Regions from separate parts of the Homo sapiens genome. Here region 1 is linked to region 2. The links are contacts of gene promoters, found by promoter capture Hi-C in blood cells and fetal thymus (Javierre and others, 2016). All regions are on one chromosome and are shown on one strand. Each heading gives the region's core, a stretch centred on a gene start or on the middle of the fragment in contact. The rest is flanking DNA. Distances are from core to core; before and after follow the strand shown. Region 1 has its middle 41 kb from the start of NNMT. Region 2 holds the start of NXPE1 (neurexophilin and PC-esterase domain family member 1).

Evidence for each region. The method cuts DNA at HindIII sites, captures the fragments that hold promoters and counts their contacts. A CHiCAGO score of 5 or more calls a contact.
Region 1: a contact is called between a fragment that was not itself captured here and the fragment with the promoter of NXPE1 in region 2, in 1 of 17 cell types (erythroblasts). The highest score is 5.0, in erythroblasts.

The regions. Positions count from the first base shown.
Region 1 is chr11:114,335,404-114,339,500 of GRCh38, reverse strand. No RefSeq gene overlaps it. Among named protein-coding and RNA genes, the nearest start is that of NNMT, 41 kb to the right of the region's middle. The HindIII fragment of the contact is 1,332 bases long and covers 1,782-3,113 here.
Region 2 is chr11:114,558,179-114,562,132 of GRCh38, reverse strand. It overlaps NXPE1 (neurexophilin and PC-esterase domain family member 1), which reads left to right and starts at 2,252. Exons shown (of 9, transcript NM_001395504.1): 1 at 2,252-2,335. It also overlaps a transcript of NXPE2 not described here. The HindIII fragment of the contact is 13,193 bases long and covers 1-3,954 here.

The DNA of each region.
Region 1 (4,097 bases), core at 1,198-3,697, 220 kb after region 2:
AGAGTTCCTGTCGCTTCACAGCCTCACCAGCATTTGGTGTTTTCAATGTTCTGAATTTTGGCCACTCTGATAGGTGTGTAGTGGTATCTCATTGTTGTTTTAATTTGCATCTCTCTGATGACATATGATGTGGGGCATCTTTTTATGTGTTTATTTGCCATTACATGTCTTCTTTGGGGAGGTATTTGTTAAGTTCTTTGGCCCATTTTTTAATTGGGTTCTCTGTCTTCTTATTGTTGAGTTTCAAGAGTTCTTTGCATATTTTGGGTACCAGTCCTTTGTCAGGTGTGTTTTTAACAAATATCTTCTCTCTCTCTCAGTCTGCAGCTTGTCTTTTCATTTTCTTGACAGTGTCTTTGGCAGAGCAGAAATCTTTAATTTTAAAGAAGTCCAGCATATCAGTTCTTTTTTTCATGTATTGTGGTTTCGGTATTATATCTAAAAAGTCATTGACAAACCCAAGGGCATCTAGATTTTCTCCTATGTTATCTTCTAGTTTTACAGTTTGATATTTTGGTCTGTGGGGTATTTTGAATTAATTTTTGTGATGGGTGGAAAGTCTGTGTCGAGATTCACTTCTCTGCATGTGAATGTTCAGTTGTTCCAGCACCACTTATTGTAAAGCCTATCTTGTCTCCATTGTATTGCCTTTGCCCCCTTTTCAAAGATTAGTTGATTGTGTTTATGTAGGTCTATTTCTGGGCTTTCTATTCTATCCTATTGATCCTCTGCCAGTTTTTTCACCAATACCACACCGTCTTTATCACTGTGGCTTTAGGGTAGTTATAGTAATATCATAAGTCTTGATGTCAGTCCTCCAATTTTGTTCTTTTCTTTCAATCTTGTGGTGGTTATTGACTGTCTTTTGACTCTTCATATAAACATTGGAATCAGATTATTGATAGCCACAAAATATCTTACTAGGATTTTGATTTTGATTGCATTGAATCTATAGATCAAGTTGTGAAGAACTAATATCTTGACTAATACTGAGTTTTTCTATCTATGAACATGGAATATTTCTCTATTTATTTAGTTTTTCATTGGTTTCTTTCATCAGTTTTATGGCCTTCCTTATATAGACCATGTACAGGTTTTGTTAGATTTATACCCAAGTATTTTATTTTGAGGCACTGTTAATATAAATGACAATTTCTTTTTAATATCAAATTCCACTTGTTCATTGTTGCTATGCAGAAAAATGATTGACTTTTGTATATTAACCTTGCATCCTGAAACCTTGTTATAATTGTTTATTAGTTCCAGGAGCTTTTTTTCTTGATTTTTCAGATTTTCTTTCTTTTTTTATTTTGAGATGGAGTCTCGCTCTGTCGTCCAGGCTGGAGTGCAGTGGTGTGATCTCGGCTCACTGCAACCTCCGCCTCCTGGGTTCAAGCAATTCTCCTGCCTCAGCCTCTTGAGTAGCTGGGATTACAGGCACACGCCACCACACCTGGCTAATTTTTGTATTTTTAGTAGAGATGGGGTTTCACCATGTTGGTAAGGCTGGCCTTGAACTCCTGACCTTGTGATCCACCCGCCTCGGCCTCCCAAAGTGCTGGGATTACAGGCGTGAGCTACCACACCTGGCCTGATTCTTTCAGATTTTCTTTTAGACAATCATGTCTTTTGTGAACAAGATAGTTTTATTTCTTCCTTCTCAGTCAGTATACATTTTCTTTACTTATCTCATTGCATTAGCTAGGATTTCTAGCATAATGTTGAAAAGCTGTGGTGAGAGAGTATGTGTTTGCCTTGTTCCTGATCTTAATGAGAAAGCTTCTAATTTCTCACCATTAAATATGACGTTATCTGTATATTTTTTGTAGATATTCTTTATCAAGTTGAGGAAGTTCCCCCTCTATTTCTCATTTACTGAGGAGTTTTTTTTTTCTTTTTCTTTTTCTTTTATCATGAGCAAGTGTTAGATTTTGTCAAAGGTTTTTTCTACATCTATTGATGTAATCATCTGTATTTTGTTCTTTAGCCTGTTGATATGATGGATAGCCTTAATTAGTTGTCAAATGTTGAAACAGCCTTTCATTCCTGGGATAAATCCCCCTTGGTGTGGCACACAATTCTTTTTATACTTTGATGGATTCAATTTGTTAACATTTTGTTGAGAATTTTTGCATCTATGTTCATGAGAGATACTGAACTGTGGATTTTTTTTTTTTTTTTTTGGAGACAGAGTCTCTCTGGAGTACAGTGACGTGATCTTGGCTCACTGCAATCTCTGCCTCCCAGGTTCAAGCGATTCTCCTGTCTCAGCCTCCTGAGTAGTAGCTGGGATCACAGGCATGCACCACCACACCCGGCTAATTTTTGTATTTTTAGTAGAGACAGGGTTTTGCCATATTGGCCAGGCTGGTCTCGAACTCCTGACCTCAGGTGATCCTCCCGCTTCGGCCTCCCAAAGTGCTGGGATTACAGGCGTGAGCCACTGCACCCAGCCAAGATATATTGAACTGCGGATTTATTTTCTTCCAATGTGTTTGCCTGGTTTTGGTATGAAGGTGATGTTGACTTCATAGAATGAGTTAGGAAGTATTCCTTGTGCTTCTATCTTTGAAAGAGGTTGTAGAAAATCGGTGTGCTTTTTTCCTTAAACGTTTGGTAGAATTCACCAGCGAACCCATTTTGACCTGATGCTTTCTGCTTTAGGAGGCTATTAATTATTGATTCATTTTCAGTTGAATAGATATACCCTTATTCAGTGTGTATTACTTCTTATGTGAGTTTTGGCAGATTGCGTCTTTCAAGAAATTGGTCTATTTTAGCTAGGTTATCAAATTTGTAAGCATAAAGTTGTTCACAGTATTCCTTTATTATCCTTTTAATGTACATGACTTTTGTAATGATGTCCCCTCTTTCATCTCTGATATTACTAATTTATGTTCTTCCTCTCTCTCTTTTTTCTAAGTTAGCCTGGCTATGGGCTTATTAATTTTATTGATCTTTTCAAAGAACCAGCTTTTGGTTTTATTGATTTTTCTCTGTTAATTTTCTGTTTCAATTTCATTGATTTCTGCTCTAATTTTTATTGTTTCTCTTCTTCTGTTCAGTATAGATTTAGTTCGCTCTTGTTTTTCCAGTTTCCGAAGATGAAAGCTTAGGTGATTTCTTTTAAATCTTTCCTATTTTCTAATATATGCACTCCATGCTATCAATTTCCCCCTTAGCACTACTTTTATTGCACTGCACAGTTTTTGATAACTTGTGTTATTTTCATTTAGTTCAAAGTACTTTTTAATTTCTCCTGAGATTTCTGCTTTGACCCTTGTATTATTTAGACACATGTTGTATTTGTATCTCCAAGTATTGGGGGATTTTTCAGCTATCCTTCTATTATAAATTTCTAGTTTAATTCCATTGTGGTCTGAGAGCAGACACTACGATTTCTACTTTTTTTTTACATTTGTTAAGGTATATGAAGTGGTCTAGAATGTGGTCTATCTTGATGAATATTCCATGTGAGCTTGAGAAGAATGTACAGTGAATTCTGCTATTGCTGGATGAACTAGTTTATAGCTGTCCATTATTTACAGTTTATAGATGATGTTTTTGAATTTGATTATGTTCTTAATGATTTTCTGCCTGCTGAATCTGTCCATTTCTGATAGAGGGATGTTGAACTCTCCCACTATACTAGTGGACTCATCTATTTCTCCTCACAGTTCTATCAGTTTTTGCTTCATGTATTTTGATGCTGTGTTATTAGGTGCACACACATTAAGGATTGCTATGTCTTCTTAGAGAACTGACCCCTTTATCATTCGGCAATGCTCCTCTTTATCCCTAATAACTTTACTTGCTGTGAAGTGTTCTGTGTCTGAAATTGTTCTAGTTTCTTCCACTTTCTTTTGATTAGTTTTAGCATAGTATACCTTTCTCCATCCATTTACTTTCAATTGATATGAGTCTTTATATTTAAAGGAGGTTTCTTATAGACAACCTGTAACTGAGTCTTGTTTCTTGATCCATTCTAACATTCTCTGTCTTTTAATTGTTGTGCTTAAGACCACTCATATTCAAAGTGATTATTGATATAATTGGGTTAATATCTATCATATTTGTTACTGTTTTTGTTACCCTTG
Region 2 (3,954 bases), core at 1,003-3,502:
GGCATAAAGCACAATAATCAGAAGAAATTGACATGCCAAGAAAACAAAGTTAAAAGGACAGTTGATACAAGAATTTAGAATAAGTGTGTTTAATTACCAGACTGATGTGAGAGGATATTGCAGCCATACTTAGAGTTAACTAGATATTTGTTAAATTTAAAATATGATACGTGAAATAAAGAAAAACTTGAGGGACACACTAAAGTTCAAAATGAAAACAATAAACTGGAGAAATAAAATGTTAACTCAAGAATTCTTGCAGAATACAGAATAAAAGGAAAGTGTGATCAAAATTATGAAAGAAAAGTTAACAGATATTAGATCTCAGGTCTAATGGGCCATTAAAAGCGCCAAACATGATGAAGATAAAAAGATCTGCATAAAATTTCATAATACCAAGGATGAAGAGAAAAATGCTACAAAGATTCACAATTATACTAACTTTGACATCAGACATTTCATAAATGACATTGGATGCATGAAGAGAATGAAACAGTATCCTCAAGGCTAAGAAGAAAAATATTTTTCACCTAATTCTATAGCAAGTAAATTTATCATCTATTTAGGAAGAAAAAATATGTACTCAGTCTAATACTGGTCCCCTCTGAAAGAGCTACCAAAGACTTTACAAGATAAGAAACAAATTGAGTAGTGAGGAGTAGGTTTTAGAAACAATATTGGTTAAAGAAACCAAGGTAACAAACAATATTGCCTAATTGTGAGTGAGGCAATATGTTCATATGAACTGTTGACACATGCAATAACTTGGATGGACATCGTGGACGTTACGCTGAGTGGGAGAAAAAAGCCAATCTCAAAATTTACTCCCATGCATAAATAGTAGTAGTTGGGGTGGTGATAGTAGTAGTTGCTAATTATTTAGTGCTTAAACTAAGTGTCAGAAACTGTTTTTAAATGTTGTACATGTATTAATTCATTTAATCCTATGAGTACTTAGCACAGTACTAATAATACTTGTGATCTTCAAAACTAAATCTTACAAATTGGCACAGGGTCTGGGCATCCAGGCTTAGAAAGAGAGATGAAGTTAGATTTATGTTACAGAGCTGAAGTAACAGTCACATGACAAATATGAAGGTTCCAGAGGGAAGGGCATGAGGCATGAGAGAAAGGTCTCCAATATGTAGTCAGTAAAATATTATTCAGCACTAAAGAAATAAGCTATCAAGCCACAAAAAGACAGAGAAACTGAAATCCGTATCGCTAAGAGAAAAGCCAATCTGGGACAGCTACACACTGTATGATTGCAGCTATGTGACATTCTGTAAAAGTCAAAACCATGGAGACAGTAAGAAAACCAGTGGTGACCAGGGGTTAGAGGGGAAAGAAGGATTAATAGGCCTAATTATTCATATACACCCATATATTCCCTTTCATGTTACAGGCATTTGGCATAGCAGAAGTTACAGCAACATTTACTGTATTGGTGAATTAAATAATGTTTATGATAATGACGAGTTAATGAACCATATCCCCTTTCCCTAACTCAGAGCAAATAGTCCTTCCCCATTTATTAGATATCCTTTTCAAACCGATAAAAGATCCAGCTGGGAAAAGTGGCTCATGCCTGTAATCCCAGCACTTTGGGTGGCCGAGGAAGACAGACCACTTGAGCCCAGGAGTTCAAGACCAGCCTGGGCAACATGGTAAGACCCCATCTCTACAAAATACAAATTAAAAATATTAGCCAGGTGTGGCAGCATGCACCTGTAGCCCCTAGGCCCAAGGCAGAAGGATGGCTTGGGCCCAGGAGTTCGAGGTTGCAGTGAGCTATGATCACGCCACTGCACTCCAGCCTGGGCAACAGAGCAAAACCTTGTCCAAAAAAAAAAAAAAAAGAAAAAAAAAGAATTCTCAATCACCCACCAGTTCTCTGCATGGTGTCCACTGACAATTTGTTCTCTTGTTTGGAGTTGTCGTGAGACTTCAGATTTTCTGAGGAAAGCCTATCCATAGAGTCACTTGGGGTATTTTTACACTATGACTTCAAGGACCACAGCTGTTTCAGAACTAAGAGGTTTTCCATTCCCAAGGGTCACCAGTAACATGGAGAGAGAAGGAATCTCAAAGAATACCCGAGTAACACCCAGTTAACAGAGGCTGTGGAATTATCTAATTGTCAGTTAATTGTACTACTGTTTATTGCCTCTTCAAATCTCCACCCCAAGATAAGCCAATTTACGAGGAAAACAGACTGATGAAAATAAATGTGTTCACAGACAAGGAACAAAAACATTTTACACAGCCACAAGAGCCAGTTAAGAACTCACAGGTACTTTTCCAGCCACCCAGATAGGAGAGATCATTAAAACAGGTGAGTAAGCAAAACTATGGAGACTGCCTTTCTCTATTTCTAATCTTGCCAGTGGTCAGTGGAGGGCAGGGAAGAACAAAGCAAAAGAAATTAGAAAGACTGTGTCTGCTGAGGGGTTCTCTCAAGTCAGAGAAAGATAAGAAAAGGGAGAAAGCTCAGAAGAAAGTGTGGGAAACAAAAAAAAAAACTGATAGTGAGAGCCTCTCTTACTGACAAGGATAGGCTGGTTTTGACGGTGAGACAGCATCAAGATAAAATATTTCTCTAATAACCAACCAGCAAAAGTCCCCAGTGCTTTGTGGGAAGCAAGCATGGATACAGTCACTCAACCTAACATCTAGTTGGAGAGAGGAAGAAGGACATCAAAAATACCTGTTTACAACTGATATTTCTTTGCCTTGTTTTATGTATGACATTGTTTGGGTGGAAAATGTATGAATATGTCACAGGAATTCAAAATACGGGAGAGATCGTTGTGGTCTAGAGTTATGCTGGAAAGTTTCCTGTAGAGATTGCCCCTGAGCTGGGGATTCACTGACTATAGAGTCTAGATTGGTGCAGGGGCAGGCCACCCCAGGTGGGCAGTAGGATGAGTCATAAACAAAGCCAGAAAAGCAGGAAGGATTCTTTTTTAATTTTTGTCTTTGAGTATGTGTGTATCCATGTATTGTGCTTTGTATGTATATTTTTAATTTACATAAAAATGTGATAAAGATTTATGTTTATTTCTTTCTTCACTTAGAGCTGTTTTTAAGAGCTCTTCATATTACAGGTAAATCTAGTGAGTTGTATCTAACTGTTGGATAGTATCCCACAATACACATCCACTACATGTTTCTTAACCATTTCATAGTAATACATATTAAAGTCTATTTAATTCCCTACAATTACAGCTATACATATAATCAACTGAAAACAAACTTTGTATGTGATTCTTTATGGACCTGACTGAGAAGTCCTCTGTGATGTATCCAGAATGAATTGCTTGGACATAGGGCATAGATAAACACAAACTAACAGAAATATTGCCATTCTGCTTTCAAAACGATCATGTTAATTTGTACTCTTACATAGCACAGCAGAGTTATGTATAAAGATCCAATCTATATTGTGACCTAGTTCAGCTTAAGTCCATAACAGGAGGATTGTTTAGCTTTAGAAAATATACGAATGTAATACATCACATTTAAACATAAAAGTTTAAAAATTCATATAATTACCTCAATGAATCAGAAAAGGCCTTTGTCAATAACTCAACTTCCATTAGTAATAGAAACACTTCACAAACTTTCTTAAAAGAGAACTTCCTCAATCTAATAGAAGGCATTAAGAAAAGCAAATATCACAAATCCAACATCATATATTTAATTACACATAGTAAAATGTTGAAACTAACTATGAAAACAAGGCAAACGTACCCAATATGGCCACTTCTAATCATCTTTGTTCTCTATGTGTGCCTATATAAAAGCACTATTAAAATAAAGCACTTGCATTTCTACACATCAGCCACAGATATTTGTTTGGAAAATGAAATAAAAAGAAAAACATATAGAATGTGCATATATATGGATATATATATACACACACACATAAACACATATACATAGATGTGTGTA